Regions from separate parts of the Homo sapiens genome. Here regions 2 and 3 are each linked to region 1. The links are contacts of gene promoters, found by promoter capture Hi-C in human tissues and cell types (Jung and others, 2019). All regions are on one chromosome and are shown on one strand. The core of a region is centred on a gene start or on the middle of the fragment in contact, and the rest is flanking DNA. Distances in the headings are between cores, read along the strand shown. Region 1 holds the start of SLC35G1 (solute carrier family 35 member G1). Region 2 overlaps PLCE1 (phospholipase C epsilon 1). Region 3 overlaps PLCE1 (phospholipase C epsilon 1).

Region 1 (5,154 bases), core at 755-3,254:
CCCCATCTCAGACCCACCGAAATAGAATCTCTGTAACTCTAAAAGGCTCCACTAGTTTGAGAACCACTGCTACACTCGATCACTAACTCCCTCCAGAGGATGTGAGGCACAGGCCTAAGAAACTACTTCTCCTTGCTTCAGTGTAAGACCCACACTGTCCCTGAAGAAAGTAAGGAGATGTCTTGGGACAGCTGTATGTGTCTGTTAAGGTCATCCAAGAATGTAAGACATATGGGTAACAGTTCCAACCAGAACTTGAAAAAAGCTTTGTTGAGATAAGCAGTTAGAACAAGAGGTGTCACAAAGTTCAATGACAACAGTAAAGTGTTTTTATGTCAATTTTCTTTCCAAAATATTATCTTGTCACCTTACAATAACTAAGTCTTACTGGTAGAAACTTTCTTTGAAGTTAAACACCCACAAGATTCTTAGATACACTCACGTAAGTTTCTCATCTTGCCATGAGCTGCCTGGGAGTAGAGAATTCCTCTTCCATTCACAAAAAGGGGAAACTTTAAGAGTTTGCATGGACTGATTCGGCATGCCACCAGAAGGACATTCACCCAGAGGGTGATAGGTGAGAAACTGACCTTTTCAAAGGCTGCTTATCTGTTCAATTCAGCCTGGCATAACCCCTGTTCTAGAGGCACCAGCCCATTTATAAATGATCACAAGTCTGATCATTTCGGTTTGCCTTTAGGACAGAAATGGAGCAAGAATAGTCTTCCTAGAGTCTGTCTCTCTAACTTGGGGAAAGTGCACAAAGGGAGGAGGGGAAAGCGCAGTGAGAGGAGAGGAACAGAAATCCAGGGTCACACTTAGGGGAGGTGACCCAGAGGACAAGGTGGTGCAGGCCGTGTAACTGTCCTAAAAAGAGATCTGCCTATTCCCTTCTTCTTGCAGGAAGCTGCTCCTGGTAGATGGTCGACTTCTAAGAGGAATGTGCTTGAAGCAGCACTTGTGGCCAGTGGAAAGGGCCCTAGGCCGGTATATGGCAAGCTGGGATCCTAACCCTGGTGCTCCCTGGACATGCGCCCCATCTCACCCCCACGTTCCACATCTTGGAGGAGACAAAGCAAACGAAAACCCAAAAGCCCTCACCTTCCTGGGCCTCACTTTGCTCATGTGTCGAAGGAGGGGGACTGAACATAAAGTGTTCTTCACGAGGGGTCCCTGACTTTGGGGACGGGGCTGTGAGCTTCTTAACAAGATATGCCTTGTTCTGCATCGTTTGCTAAAAAGTCCTTGTATCCCTAAAGGTTAAAAACTAGCGGTCCCACTTATCTCTGCCTTTCCAAGATTCTAAAACTCTAGGACGAACATTTTTTCTAGACTCGATGCTTTTCAGCTTCCTTTTCGGAGAGAACCCTTAACCACCGGGATCACTTTTCAGGGTCAGCTTCCTCGCAACGTCGCCCCACTGCAGGATGGCCTCTCTCGCTGACCCCCCACCTACGACCTAGGGGAGGGTACGCCAAACTGCAGTCTGACTCCACAGCCCTGCCCCGACACTAATTACAGGAGCAGCCTCGGAATCCCAAAAGGACTGCTAACAATCGGAAAGTTTCTTCCGTCTTAGCGCCGGCTGGGGCGCCGGGAATTCCGCTTTGCAGCCCCCCAGCTGACAGCTCGAGGGGTTTCCCGAGCCCCGGGCAGGGTGGGGACGGAGGCGCGGCGGGCACTGTGCCCGGGTTGCGGGGACCCCAACCCGCCGGCGCCCGCTCGGGACCCCCGAGCGAGACCAGAGCCCGATCCACACCGCGCACTCACCCGGCTCGGTGCGGGAGCAACACGGCGAGGAAAGGCAGAGCCAGCACCTACCGCGGTCTGGCGCCCCAGCTGCCTCGGCGGCCGCCGGCTCCTCAGTGGCGCCCGGGGGTGCATCGTCCGTTAGCGGCAGCCCGGGCTCCTGGAGCTCCGCGACCCCGGTGCTGTCCTGAGGCCGCATCTCGCGGCACGCGCTCTACCAGCGGCCGGTGCCGTCTGGCGCCAGCAGCAGCGCCTGGGCTGCCGCTCTTCCGGCGGGCGATGGCGCCCATGCGCATGCGCGCCCGGCCCACCCGCACCCTCCCCCAAGGAGACCGCGCGCGTCCTCCGCTGGCCTCTTAACCTGGGGAGACCCGCTGCCTCCCTGGTCGGGCTGTGGTGCCCACAGCTGGCTCTAAGGCGTCCAACCCTCTGCTGCGTTCAGGCTACATGGCCCAGCTGCTTGGAGCCATCCTTGGCAAGTCACACTGAACCTGTCTGTCATGGCACAGACAAGGAGGGGCGCTGGGTTCCCAAGCCCTGGCGCCCGGGGGTCCTGTGGCCTCCTTTTCAGGAGGCTCAAAGAGTGGGCGTTTTTTCATTGATGTAACCACGCATTCAGCACCTCTGTGATACCCCGAAGATTTTACAAAGCACCATGCTTGTCTTTAAATGGTCTAGGGTTTTTATGTTTTGTTTTGTTTTGTTTTGTTTTGTTTTGTTTCCCGTGTTGTCCCTTTGCTGCTTACCAAGGAGGGTAGAATTTTGCTGTTTTGGGAAATATTTTTAAGAAAGAATTAGTGTGTAATTATAGGAAAATATATCTATAAGACTGACCAGAACCCATTTATATGTTCTTTGCATTCTTTGCAAGAGTAGGCATGCATTATTGATCTTTGGTTTTCTTTTCTTAAATGGAAATATCCTAATTTGGCCAGATGTAAGATTCAAGTAATCTGATGTAATTAGACCTGGTAAAATATATTCTTTGGCCCAGGATTCACTAACAGCCTCTTTTTGTTTAGCTAATAATTCTTCTTCCATCTCTTTGCTTGCTTTATATGTGGAAGAACAGTCTCTGTGCAAGGATGAACGTATCTAAACTTCTAAGTCCAGTGCCAAGCAGATCACCAAAGGAGAGTGAAGTTTGCCTTTACTCAGACATTTGCACATAGTGATCCACAGCTGAAACAGTTTTAGACTTGAAGTCAGGAATCCTAGGTTCTGGCCCTGAGTGTGTGACCTCAGTCACCACTGTACCCCTCGAAGCCTTGATTACCTCCTTTATTTAATAGCGATCAAGTATTTCCCTTCCTGCTTCGCAGAGTAGTTATGTAAATAAAATGCAATGATGTGGGCAAAAGCATAATATCACCTGGAAAACACTATGTTAGAAAATCAAAGTGTGTTTTAAACTAGGGTCAGCATATAATTTATCCTCCAAACTGGACCTTTTTTTTTTTAAGAGTAAAAGGAGGAGCTCTTTTAAAAGTTACACAAGGGAATAGGCATAAACTGGGACTGTCCTAGGCAAACTGAGACAAATGGTCACCTGAATTCTAACTTGATTAACACATACTTTTGCCTTGTCTTAAAAGAGAATTTAAGGCTGGGCACGGTGGCTCAGCCTACCATCCTAGCACTTCGGGAGGCTGAGGTGGGAGGATTGCTTGAGCTTAGGAGTTTGAGACCAGCCTGGGCAACATAGACCTTGTCTCTATAAAAAAAATAATAATACTTTTAAAAGAATTTAAGGCTACTTACAAAAATATCTGTAACAGGTTTTGTTGTCGTTGTTTTAGATAGGGAAATTTCAGGGAAGGATGGTAAGGGTGGTAGATCATGATTATAAAGCAAGAACCAGGAAGCTTCCTCAAATATCTGGGAAGTCAAGTGCAGTTTCACAATTGCATTCTAAGATTTCGATATGGAAAGGGTTTGAAGAGTCCCCTCCTCTTAAATGGTGAAGATTATGGCTAGGAAGTGTGGTAAAGAAGAAAGAAGTGTGATGATTTGAGAAGGAAGTACCCTGACTGCTCCACTTTCAACACTTTCAACACCATCCTCGAAAAGGGAGAAGAAGAAGAGAAGAAAATGGGTACTACACCAGTTATTAAAGGTGGTGAGATGATTTCATACCTGCTGTTTATTCCCTTTAACTTCCTTCCCCTCCACTGCTGACCTTCATATATAAATGGTATCAGTTATATTCATTCTCCCATTTAGCTGACAGCCATGCTGACATAAAAGGCAACCAATGAGAAAAGTGCGGACCAAGCTGGCCTGTAATCCCAGCACTTTGGGAGGCCGAGGAGGGCAGATCACTTGAGGTCAGGAGTTCGAGACCAGCCTGGCCAACATGGTGAGACCCCGTCTCTACTAAAAATACAAAAATTAGCCAGGTGTAATGGCGGGTGCCTATAATCCCAGCTGCTCAGGAGGCTGAGGCAGGAGAATCACTTGAACCCAGGAGGCGGAGGTTGCGGTGAGCCGAGATCACGCTGCTGCACTATATCCTGGGCAACATGAGCGAGACTGTCTCAAAAAAAAAAAAAAAAAAAAAAAAAAAGTGCGGACCAGACTAGAAGTCAGAAGACATGGCTGTCCTGAAGCTCCACCCAGTAGAGGTGTGGGGCTGTTAAGGTCTCTCCTGAACATTGTTATTTCAGGTCTTTGGTGATGATAGTGATATTGAGCTGGTGACAGATAGATCTCCATAATGTGCAGGATGGGCCAGAAATCCCGACTGTAGAGGAGACTAGTTCAGAGCCTATTGAAGTGACCCAGATGAGATTCTGACCCCAGGTAGAGAAGGCAAGGAGGAAAGATGGATTTTGAGGTGGCTAGGAGATGGAATGTGCAGAACTCGTTGACTAGATGTGAAAGAGCATTGTTTCTGTATGCAAAATTGTGCTGTGTTCCAGCACACACTCTTCTGCTTCTGAAGTGATTCAATCTTCCAGTGAGAACAGGAGCTCTCACTGTGATGCCAGGTAGCCACAGCAAGGATGGCACTCCCATAGTTCTGGTGTCAAGAAGGAAGATGAAAATGGAGAAGAGGTGGGTTTTAACCTGTCCCTGCTAACCACTGAAAGTCCAAGATCCTCACCATCCATGTGGCAGCAGGTGGAGACTTCCAGGAGGAGTCAGATTCCTGGTTTCCACTGGTCTTTGCATGTCAGGGATGTTCCTAAGTGAGACGTTTGTATGTCAGAAACTGTCTTTCATAACAAACTGGTACCTTGGTACTGATTTGAAGGACTGCTTTTTTTTTTCCAAAAAATTCATGGATTCTTACCTTTTAAACTAATGCAACTTATGACTTGGGAAATGGCAGTTTGTTCCAAACAGCCCTAATGTTTTGTTTTGGGAAAAATCAGTACTGTGGAACATAAGATCATATTTCTA
Region 2 (5,154 bases), core at 1,174-3,673, 340 kb before region 1:
GCCACTAATGTTAGCAACCTGTTAAGTGAAAAATCTTTGAAATAATCTCTGAGAAACTGGAATTACTGAGCAATTTAAAAACCTGCAGATGCCTTGTGTGTGTAGGGTTAATTTTAACACACCTTACAGAGCAGTGTTTCTCGAAGTGAGATCACTAACCCTCGACTTAGAATCACCCAGAGGTTGGCAGAGATAAAAATACTGATTTCTAGGTATCACCCAGACCTAACTAAGTCAGTAGATTTGATTTAAAAATATCTTAATACCCACCCTAGTACCCCACCCAAGAATTAAAAAAACCACTGTTACAAAAACTAGGAAATAAAAGATCACAGCTCTCCTTCTGAAATTTAATGTGTTGAATTCTTAGAAATGGCAGGATAGCTCTAGGTTTTTGTTTTTTTTTTAAAGGGGTAACAGATGGTAAGAAGTTAAATTATGAGCAGTAATTTTAGAACAAAGCAGCAAAATGAGAAAGGTAAATGTGAATTTGGAATTGGTAAGGTTTGAAGATAAAGAAGTGTGGCTTAATGATAAAAGTGGCAGGTTTTGATGAGGTGTCCATCTGAAACTAAGCTGAAGTAGGAAACAACTCATCAACAGGAAAAAAGAAGAGATGAGCATTCCTCACTTTTAACGTGTAAAACTTACTGCCATCGGCTTTTATCCTTCAAGGAGCTTTTCCTGGAGCTGTTTCCTTCACTGGGGCTGTCCTCCTCGTCTGTCTCCAGACTTCGATTGCAGCTCCGGATGACCTGAAAGATGCTGTTGACAGTGGACTCCTTCTCCGAATTCTTTAAGCCATTTTGTCCCACTCGTTGTAAGAAATTATCTTGTCCACTGTAATCTGCTACAAACTACAAAAAAAAATCGAGAATTTGCTATTGCAACTTAATATGCCTGGATAACATACTTGGCTAGGGAAATGAAATCATAAAGTAATAAATAATGGCATTTGTGCCTATTTTATGGGAAAGAAAACAAGAGCCTCCAGGAAAAACATTTTTTCATTTCACCACATGAAATATCAAAACTCACCCTTGTTTCCACTGAGACAACTTTAATCCCTCTGGGAATCGACACTCCACTTCAAATTTAAAACAAAAAAAATATTATTTCAGGGCTCCCTAAGGAGAAGATTAGCCAATTTGCAGAGGAAGAGCATGGTTATTTTATCCTTATAGTGAGAACTGAGAAAAACCATGAGTAAAGTATGCTATTCTATGGAACCAGAAAAAATGACTGGGCCCAAGCAAAACACTGAGAAGAGGTGATGTTTTGCTTTATTGCTCATGTGTTCTATAATAACACAGTGGCTTCTTCCTGGTTTTTAAGCTCTTTAAGCCTTATTGTTCATACAGTTGATTAGGAAGCTTCTCTCATCAGAGGTGAGAGCTGTGTCTGGGATAAGAGATGTGGAGTTCCCTCTTCTTAAGACATGAGGAAGCTAGGGGGTGTGGCCCGGGAGTCTTCCTTTAAGCTTTCTCCTCCATTTCTTGCCCTTTTATCCTAGCTCATAACCCAGAGAGATGCCGGTGGTGTTGCCTGTACCTGTCAGGAGCTCTTAAGTCTTTCTGATATCAGGTGATGCCTTTGCTCCCAGGTGACAAAGAAGAGGCTGAAGGTTGAGGAGAGTCTTCCCACTCCATGGAGAAGGCATGTACATGACTCTGTGTGTGTGTGTGTGTGTGTGTGTGTGTGTGTGTGTGAAAGGTCAGTAGTAGGTTCTGTCATCATGGCAGGAATGATCCTAGATTTGGGTTTGGTCCCCGGTAAGGGACTTCTCAAAATCTCCATAAAGTTCTTTCCATTTTAGTCACTTCTTTCATTTTTAAACACCTTGGAGGGAGCCTCCTTATCTTTTCCCTCCAGTTTCTCAACTCCCCTTCTCTCCAATGCCCAATGCCTTGGGTCAAAGCTCACACTGTCCCTTCTGCTCTGGGAATCAGGAACAGGAGGCAATGGATCTGGGAGAAACAAGGCTCTGAGGATCAGGAGCCTGGAGCTTGTCTCTACATGCGTCTCCAGGCTCCCCAGCATTTTCCCACAAAGGATGAACAGAAAGCAGTGTTGACTTCCCCTCTTTTTTCTTCCACTGATGTGGAAAACTTAATACTCTCAATTGACTGTCTTCATCCCCTGCATCCAGACATTCCCACCCAATAAGAAAAACCTGTCAATCTTTAAAAACCATCAGAAAACAACACCCTTTTTGACTTGTACTTACATATTAAACCTAATACATTAAAACTAACTTCACAATACTATGTCCCACACAGCGCTAGTTGGCATTCTTTTCTACAGAACTTCCAAGGATCTATGTGCTACCCAGAAATAATATAACAACTATTAACCCTGTGTTCAATCAGTGATCATTTCTTTGGTGAGCACAGACAGGGCCTGATGAGACAGCCAGCAACAGTGGCTCTTCAGGCCACGATGATTCTGAAAGGCCTTACCTCTAAAGTTTCTTCTTGGGAATTGTACCGCGGGCAAAGCTTCATGAGACCGGAGGCGCCGTCAAGCACTTCACAGAGCTCCTTCAGAAACACCCCACAGAATGGAACCACCTTACAGCCAGGGATGTGCAGGGCACGTGTCACCACCTTTCTGTACTCACAAGAGGACTCATGCTGGGCCATAGCATCCTTCAGGCTCCTCATGGTCTCAATATCAGACTGGTCCATGAACTGCCACATTTTTAAAACTTTTCTTGACCTATTGCAAGTAAATGACATTTTTCAGACTGAAGGAGAAATAATATAGTTTACAGCAAGGAGCCTAAATTCCATACAAATTCATTCTTTTTACCATTTTTTTTTTTTAGGTGGAGTCTCACTCTGTTGCCCAGGCTGGAGTGCAGTGGTGCGATCTTGGCTCACTGCAACCTCTGCCTCCTGGGTTCAAGCGATTCTCCTGCCTCAGCCTCCCTAGTAGCTGGGATTATAGGCGCGCGCCACTATGCCTGGCTAATTTTTATATTTTTAGTAGAGACGGGGTTTCGCCATGTTGGCCAAGCTGGTCTCGAACTCCTGACCTCAGGCGATCCACCTGCCTCGGCCTCTCAAAGTGCTGGGATTACAGGCATGAGCCACCGCGCCCAGCCCCAATATTCTTTACTTGTTAATATTTATGTAGGGTTCCTATCCCCACCTACTTCCCCAGATAATATGAATAATACTTTTGTAAATTGAAACTGAAAAATAAATAGGACAGATACAAACACAAATAGGCATATGGGACGCGTTAGTTATGGAAGCTGGGCACTGAATGTAGGTTTGAGTTTTTCTGGCAGCTATGGCCAAAAGGGGAAAGTAGAGGGTAATGTGGTTTGTACAGATATTGGTGGAGGAGGACTGCCTGGGGAAACTTGGCCCATCTGGCCCTCTTGATCTTTTAAATATTACTCTTGGATCAATCCAGTCCCTTAGTGATCAACATGAAGCCCATTGTTTTCACCTCTTCTGTAGAATTGATTTTTACTGAATCAAGCTTTGACATGAAGCCACCAGCCCATTTTGGGGGACCTTGTTGTAAAGTATTATTTGCATTACAGGATGTTAAGTGGGACTTTCCCTATTCTGAAACTCCTGCTGAGACCCACAGATGACAATGCACCACACCTTCTAAAGAGAGGCCCTCACAAGGTGTTACCTGAACTGCTTTGCCCACAGTGGTCTCCCACTCTCTTTCAGCCCATGCAGAGAAAGTGGATCTGAGCAGATAGCTTGGGAATATTTCTCTGGGGGGAATTGTGGGAGAGCTCACCTTTCTGTGAGAGGATGAAGTCACCCCAAGTGCAGGGGGCAGTAAGTGAATTCCCTGGGGACATTGACCTGTGTCCCGGGCAGTCTGTAGATCACGTGAACTGGTGCATGACTCTTGCCTAAAGATTTGAGGCTAGCTGGAGCTCCCTGGTGGCAAAGGGAGAGAGGATTCCAGTAGATATGTCCTGTGCTTGCAGAGTTGGGAGGGCAACATGCTGACTATTTCCTGTGAGTCAGGAGGGGATACTGTGCAAAGAGGTGGGGCTTGAGCTGTCTTGAAGGGTCTGCCTGCCAAATGAGGCGACCCTAGCAGAAAGGGCCTGTGAGGACAGGACCCCAGGGGGTGAGGAATAAGAGGTTGACCAGAGGGTACACTGCATTTTGCTAGGTAATTGTGCAGTGGGGAGATGGAAAAAATTAGAGAGAGTAACTAGTAAGAAAACCTAAAAGCACCCTCCATTGGTCTCTGTGAGGGCACCAAGGCCAGATTACAACTGCCCCATCAAGTAAGACTCTGTGCTCCCTCTATCCCCATCCTTTCCCATCTCCTCTCCTGTCCACTTCTTTTCTGCAGACACCCAGTTGCAGGGAAAAGGAAGAAAAAAGATAAACTCTATCTTCCTCACTACTACAAGTCTCTGAGACTGGTTGGGTTGTGAAACGTAAGGAAGGGAAGAAGATATATATTGAATGAGATATTAAAATTTTGATTTAGATTAACTGGGTTACAAAATCACTGTGTAATATATAAGACATCCAAAGACATAAAGAAGTACAACATGACAAACACCCATGTGCCAATCTCTCAGTTTAAAAAATCAAACATCAACAATGTGGTTGAGGCCCTAGTGTATTCCTCCAAGAGCACATACTCTATTCTTCCCTCACCAGACAGGACCACCACTGGTACTTTGGGGTTCTCCTTTCCTTAAAATTCTTAATACTTTTCCAACATATGCATATATCACTAAGCAAGTTACAGAATTGTGTATTTTTAAACTTTATGTAAATAGTATCACATGGTAGATAGTCTTAGACCAGGGGTCCCCACCCCTGGGCCGCAGACCAGTACTGGCTCATGGCCTGTTAGGAACTGGGCTGCACAGCAGGAGATGAGCAGCGGGCAAGCAAGCATTACAGCTTGAGCTCTGCCTGCTGTCAGATCAGCAGTGGCATTAGATTCTCATAGCAGCGCAAACCCTACTGTGAACTGTGCATGTAAGGGATCTAGGTTGCACGCTCCTTATGAGAATCTAATGCCTGATGATCTGATGTGGAACAGTTTCATCTGAAAACCATCTGCCCCCACCCCCACACCCCGAGTCTGTGGAAAAATTGTCTTCCATGAAACTGGTCTCTGATGCTAAAAAGGCTGGGGATCCCTGTT
Region 3 (5,154 bases), core at 1,210-3,709, 300 kb before region 1:
TACTTGGAAGTGGGCTCTTACTTCCCCCACCTAGCATATACATTCATAGTCAAAGACTTAGAATGACAACAGCCAATCTATAAAGAATGAGATTATATCTTTTTTTTTTTTGGTGGGGGGTGGTTCATCAGTTCATCCAACAGGTTTCATCATCAGCTCTTTCATGTTCTTAAATTTTTTTTTTTTTTTTTTTTTTTTTTTTGAGACAGAGTCTTGCTCTGTCACCCAGGCTGGAGTGCAATGGTGCAATCTTGGCTCACTGCAACCTCCGCCTCCCAGGTTCAGGTGATTCTCCTGCCTTAGCCTCCCACGTAGCTGGAATGACAGGCTCCCGCCACCATGCCCAGCTAATTTTTGTATTTTTAGTAGAGATGGGGTTTCACCAGGTTGGCCAGGCTGGTCTTGAACTCCTGACCTCAGGTGATCCACTTGCCTTGGCCTCCCAAAGTGCTGGGATTACAGGCGTGAGCCACTGCACCCAGCCAAGAATGAGATTATATCTTAATGTCACGCTTCATTGTCAGAAATATTGCCAGAAAATATTTGAACAGAGATTTATCCAAAGAAGATATACAAATATAAGCAGGTGAAAAGATACTCAACATCATTAGCTATTTAGGAAAATGAAATCAAAACCATGAGGTATCACTTCATACCTACTAGGATGGCTGTAGGTATGTGTTGTAGGACTAGCAAGTGTTGATAGGAATGTGGATAAATCAGAACCCTCATACATTGTTGGTGGGAATGTCAAATGGTGCAGACACTTTGGAGCAGTTTGGCAATTCCTCAAAATGCTAAACATTGAGTTGTATGACCCAGCAATTCCACTCCTAGGTACATACTCAAGATAAATAAAAACATATGCTCAAACATTTTTCTTGAATTTCATAGCAGCACTATTTGTAATGGCCAAAAAGTATACATAATTCAAATGGCCATCATTATTTTTACCAATAAACAATATGTGGTATACGCACATAATGAAATATTATTCAGCCATAAAAGAAATGAAGTACTGATTCATGCTACAATGCTGATGAACCTTGAAAACACTATCTTAAGTGAAAGATGCCAGACAAAAAAGGCCACTTATTGTGTGATTCAATTTATACAAAATATCCAGAATAGGCAAATCCATTGGGACAGAAATGAGATCACTATTTTCCAGGAGCTGCAGTTAGGGAGGAATGGGGAGTGACTGCTAGTGGGTATGTGGTTTCTTTTTGGGGTGATCATCATATCCTAAAATTGATTTATGGTGATGATTATACAAGTCCGTAAATATATGAAAAAAGCCACTGACCTGTATACTTTAAATGTATGTATTATACAGTATATAAATTGTATCTCAATAAAGCTGTTACAAATATCAAACAGAAAGCAACAGGCAAACCAAAAAGATATGTTGTATAGAAAGTAGAGTGCTTTCTCTACTTCTAGCAACACTTCTAGAAGGGGTGGGGATTGGGTGTTCTGGGCTGGTGAGTCCCACCTCATTATACCTGAGTGGGGTCCTCTCTCTCAAAGTCTTTTTTTATTTTTAAATTTTATTTATTTATTTATTTTAGAGATGGGTCAGCAAAGCCCAGGCTGGTTTTGAACTCCTGGCTGCAAGTGATCCTCCTGACTTGGCTTCCCAAAGTGCTGGAATTATAGGCATAAGCCACCATGCCTGGCCCTCTCTCTAAGTCTTGCACCTGAAAGGTAGCTTATAGATCCTCCTTTTCCACTTTAAAAGGCTCTTCCCCTCGGAGCTTCTCCTGGGGCTACAGCTGCTTCTTCTCTGGGGGCACTACCCAGCTGTGACAACCAGGCTGAGGGTGGATCAGACAAGAAATCATTATCTCAAAGGAACGAAGAAGAGAACACTTTATGCTATAATACATAGGATAGAGCAACAGCAAAACTCTCACTGTAACCCTCACCCTATAGAAGGCAAGCCCCTGAGCCCAGAGTGAAGGTGTATAGCAAGGAGGTAGTGTATATAGGTTAGTTTGGATTCAGTATTACTTACAATGCACCTTATACATTAAGTATCAGAAGATTATAATAGCAATAGGTGACTTTTATTGATCACAACAACCCTAACTAGAAGGAATTATTATCCTCATTTGACAGGCTGGCAAAGGAAGGCTTAGAAAGACTTAGTAACTTGTAGATCATATAAACAATGTGGCTGGGATTCAAACTCTGAGAGTTCAAACTCTAGAGTCTAAATTCTAAGAAGCATTAGATATCATCTGGCCTAATTCTTTATCTTATGGGGCAGAAACTGATGTTCAGAGGGGCTAAAAGATTTGATCAATATGACACAGCTGGCTAGAGACAGAACAAAAGGCCTAGACTCATAATCCTGTTCAAAGTTTCCCTGACCTTTTTTAGATGTATAGTACAGATATCAAAGAAATTCCCAAAAGTCAGGATTTCATATCCAGAGTTATTTAACTATTAGAGATAATGATTAGCATCATCTAATAGTCCTAAAACTATTGCAAGCAGGTGGGTATGTATTGCTTTCTTAAGGATTTCTAAGAAAGAAGTCTTCAAAATCTTCAGGGAGTTACATGAATGTCATGATCTTTTTCTATTAGTTTCAACATCCCAGAGAAAGGAAATCACCAAGTGAAGTGTTATCCTCCTACAACATGAGTTGTGTCATATCATTCCTCTTAAAAAAAAAAGGAGCCCCTAATTCTTAGGGTGACATTCCTAGATCCAAACTTCTGCTTCTATTTCATTTCTCATGTCTCTTTACACAGGGACTTCTTTCTTGTTTGGAGAAGGCTTGGCTCTCCAGGGTTTAGGCACTTAGTCCCCAAATCACAAACTCCTAGAACTGGAAGAGCCCTATTAGAAATCCGGACCAGCCCATTGCCCTTTCTCTCTAAGGCAGTGACTCTCAGCTTGGGAGGAGATGATGACAGTCTTGGACAGGGTTAGAGCAGGGTAGCTAGAGGAGGGGAGAACATGCTATGTTTCTGAAGTATATATTCAGCGTTATAAATGGTTTTATTCATGCTAGCAAATCTATTTTGAAGTTTCAAATCATATTAAATGTGGATACAACGTTTTTTTCTTTAACATTCTGGGCCAAAGAGTGTTGAGAAAACTTTACTTTAGATAAAGTTCCTATATTCTATGAATCCAGATAAAGACAGTAGAACCAACCCTAATATCAGCACCACTATCTACCACCTTTGTAATCATCAAGGAGTTCAAAATGGTGGCCCCTGTTTCCCCCAAACTTCTTGGTAGCCTCTAAATGGAGTTTAAAATATGATAGTATTGGAAGCAAGGAAAATTTTCTTATCTGTTCTAAAAGTAAATCATTACAAGCTATTAGCTGTCTAGAATTATTATCATCATCATTAGTTATTGAGTGCTTGATTCAGGGTCAATCACCTTGGTAAACACATTTCCTCAAATTCTCTTTTAATTCTTGCAACATCCCTACATATTAGATCAATGTTATAAGCACCACTTTACAGATGAAGAGACTGAAGAATACAATAGTTAGGAAACTTGCCTGGAGTCACACTGAAAGTAAGTGGTGAGCCTTGGATCTGAATTCAAATCTGAGCCAGGGCTCTTACCCAGGGCTACTGTCTTGTGCACTAAGTGAACAGTGCCCTCTGGAATTGTGCAGAGTCTTTGCCTCTTCCTGTACAATCCAACAGTGAGTCATCCGGGTAGACAGATGTAAAAGGGGCATGAAGTGATTAATGGGGAGAAAACAGGACAGCTACATTGCAGAGACAAGCCTTGAATGTGGTTAAAATGCCTGGACACCTCTTGGTCAGCAGTGAAGAGCAACTAAAAAATTAAGAACAGAGGGCTGTCTCTTAGTATTACCATAGGGACAAAAAATGAATGTGAAAAGCAAATGAATGAATGTAACCATTTGTTAATAGTTGTTGTGTAATTCCCCACGAAAAGGATGGCAGAAACTAGGCAAATTAAGAAATTTGGTTCTGGGTGGATTTTTATTAGCAGGATATCTGGTTCTCTCATTGGCACAGATAACAAAAAGTCACTTGTATCTGACTCCCTAATAGGCATCTTGCCTTGTTTGGAATAAGAACAGTAACTAAGTTTCTGCATCTAGTTTGAAATCCCACTTGAATATCATTATACTTTAAAACAGTGTGAAGTAAACATCTTTTAACTGTTAAGAGATGTTAATAAAGAAATCACACTGTAAAATGTAATAAAAAAATGCTTTAAAAAAAGACAATTTCATTCTACACTTTCTGTGACTTTAGCCTGCTTATCTCATCCATTGGTTGGTGACCAAGCTATTGAGCACCCAGCAGGGAAGCCCGCCTGGTGTTTATATGACAGTAGAGCGAATTTGTTTCAACTTACTTGCAGAAGTGGATTTCAGAGGAAGGGATTTGACAAAGTTGTTAAACCCCGTGGAGGCAGAAGAGGAAAGCTGGGATGGTTACAGAGCTAAGCACTGTCATTTTGAAATTCGTTTTGGCCCCCAGAGTATAAATACACCTCAGTATTTTTGTTAGGATTGCCAGAAAATCAGCAAGTGCTCACTTTCTTTTGCCAACAAAAGCATGACTCTCTGTGCAAAAATTTTCTGCACATTGTATAAACAAGAACATTCAGAAAATCCCCTCTTGCTGAGAGATATGACAAGAGATATATTAAACCATGCTGTAAAATAAAGCAGATACTAAGTACACCACTGTGTTCATCAAACACAAGAAAAGCTTTTATATATCCCTTCTGCCACAAACTTCTACATGTCATCCTATCCCCCAAAATATCTCCCCATACTGTGCTGGTCTGAGGATGGTGGCTTTCACCATCCAGGCTTTCACCTTTGTTTGCTGTGAGTCTTCTCCAATAGGCATTACCTAATCCATTACCTACATTTTCTCACCACTGCACCCTAGTTTCCCATCCCTGCAGGCTATTGTGTTGGCGGTCTCCAAGTGATCCATGACCTCCTATCCAAATCTCAGGCTAAAACTTTTCTTCCTCACAGAACCTTCCAGTTCAAAAAAGGCCATTGGAAGATCTTAATCAGGAGTTGGCAAACTTTTTCTGTAAAGGGCCAGATGATAAGTATTTTAGCCTTTGTGAGCCATTTGATCTTTGTTGCAACTACTCAGCCCTGACACTGTAGCACAAAAG

The links. The method cuts DNA at HindIII sites, captures the fragments that hold promoters and counts their contacts. A contact is called where the count stands out against the background at its distance.
Region 2: a fragment that was not itself captured here is called in contact with the fragment with the promoter of SLC35G1 in region 1 in 2 of the 25 tissues and cell types used here (adrenal gland and mesenchymal stem cells).
Region 3: a fragment that was not itself captured here is called in contact with the fragment with the promoter of SLC35G1 in region 1 in 1 of the 25 tissues and cell types used here (mesendoderm cells).

Annotation. Positions count from the first base shown.
Region 1 is chr10:93,890,828-93,895,981 of GRCh38, reverse strand. SLC35G1 (solute carrier family 35 member G1) reads right to left here and starts at 2,004. Exons shown (of 3, transcript NM_001134658.3): 1 at 1,771-2,004. The coding sequence starts at 1,948. RefSeq lists silencers at 66-115, 1,601-2,030. The HindIII fragment of the contact is 9,096 bases long and covers 1-5,154 here.
Region 2 is chr10:94,231,618-94,236,771 of GRCh38, reverse strand. PLCE1 (phospholipase C epsilon 1) reads right to left here. Exons shown (of 33, transcript NM_016341.4): 6 at 2,460-2,718; 7 at 652-857. Among named protein-coding and RNA genes, the nearest start is that of PLCE1-AS1, 53 kb to the left of the region's middle. The HindIII fragment of the contact is 3,973 bases long and covers 437-4,409 here.
Region 3 is chr10:94,193,031-94,198,184 of GRCh38, reverse strand. All of the region lies in intron 4 of PLCE1 (phospholipase C epsilon 1), which reads right to left. Among named protein-coding and RNA genes, the nearest start is that of PLCE1-AS2, 87 kb to the right of the region's middle. The HindIII fragment of the contact is 7,030 bases long and covers 1-5,154 here.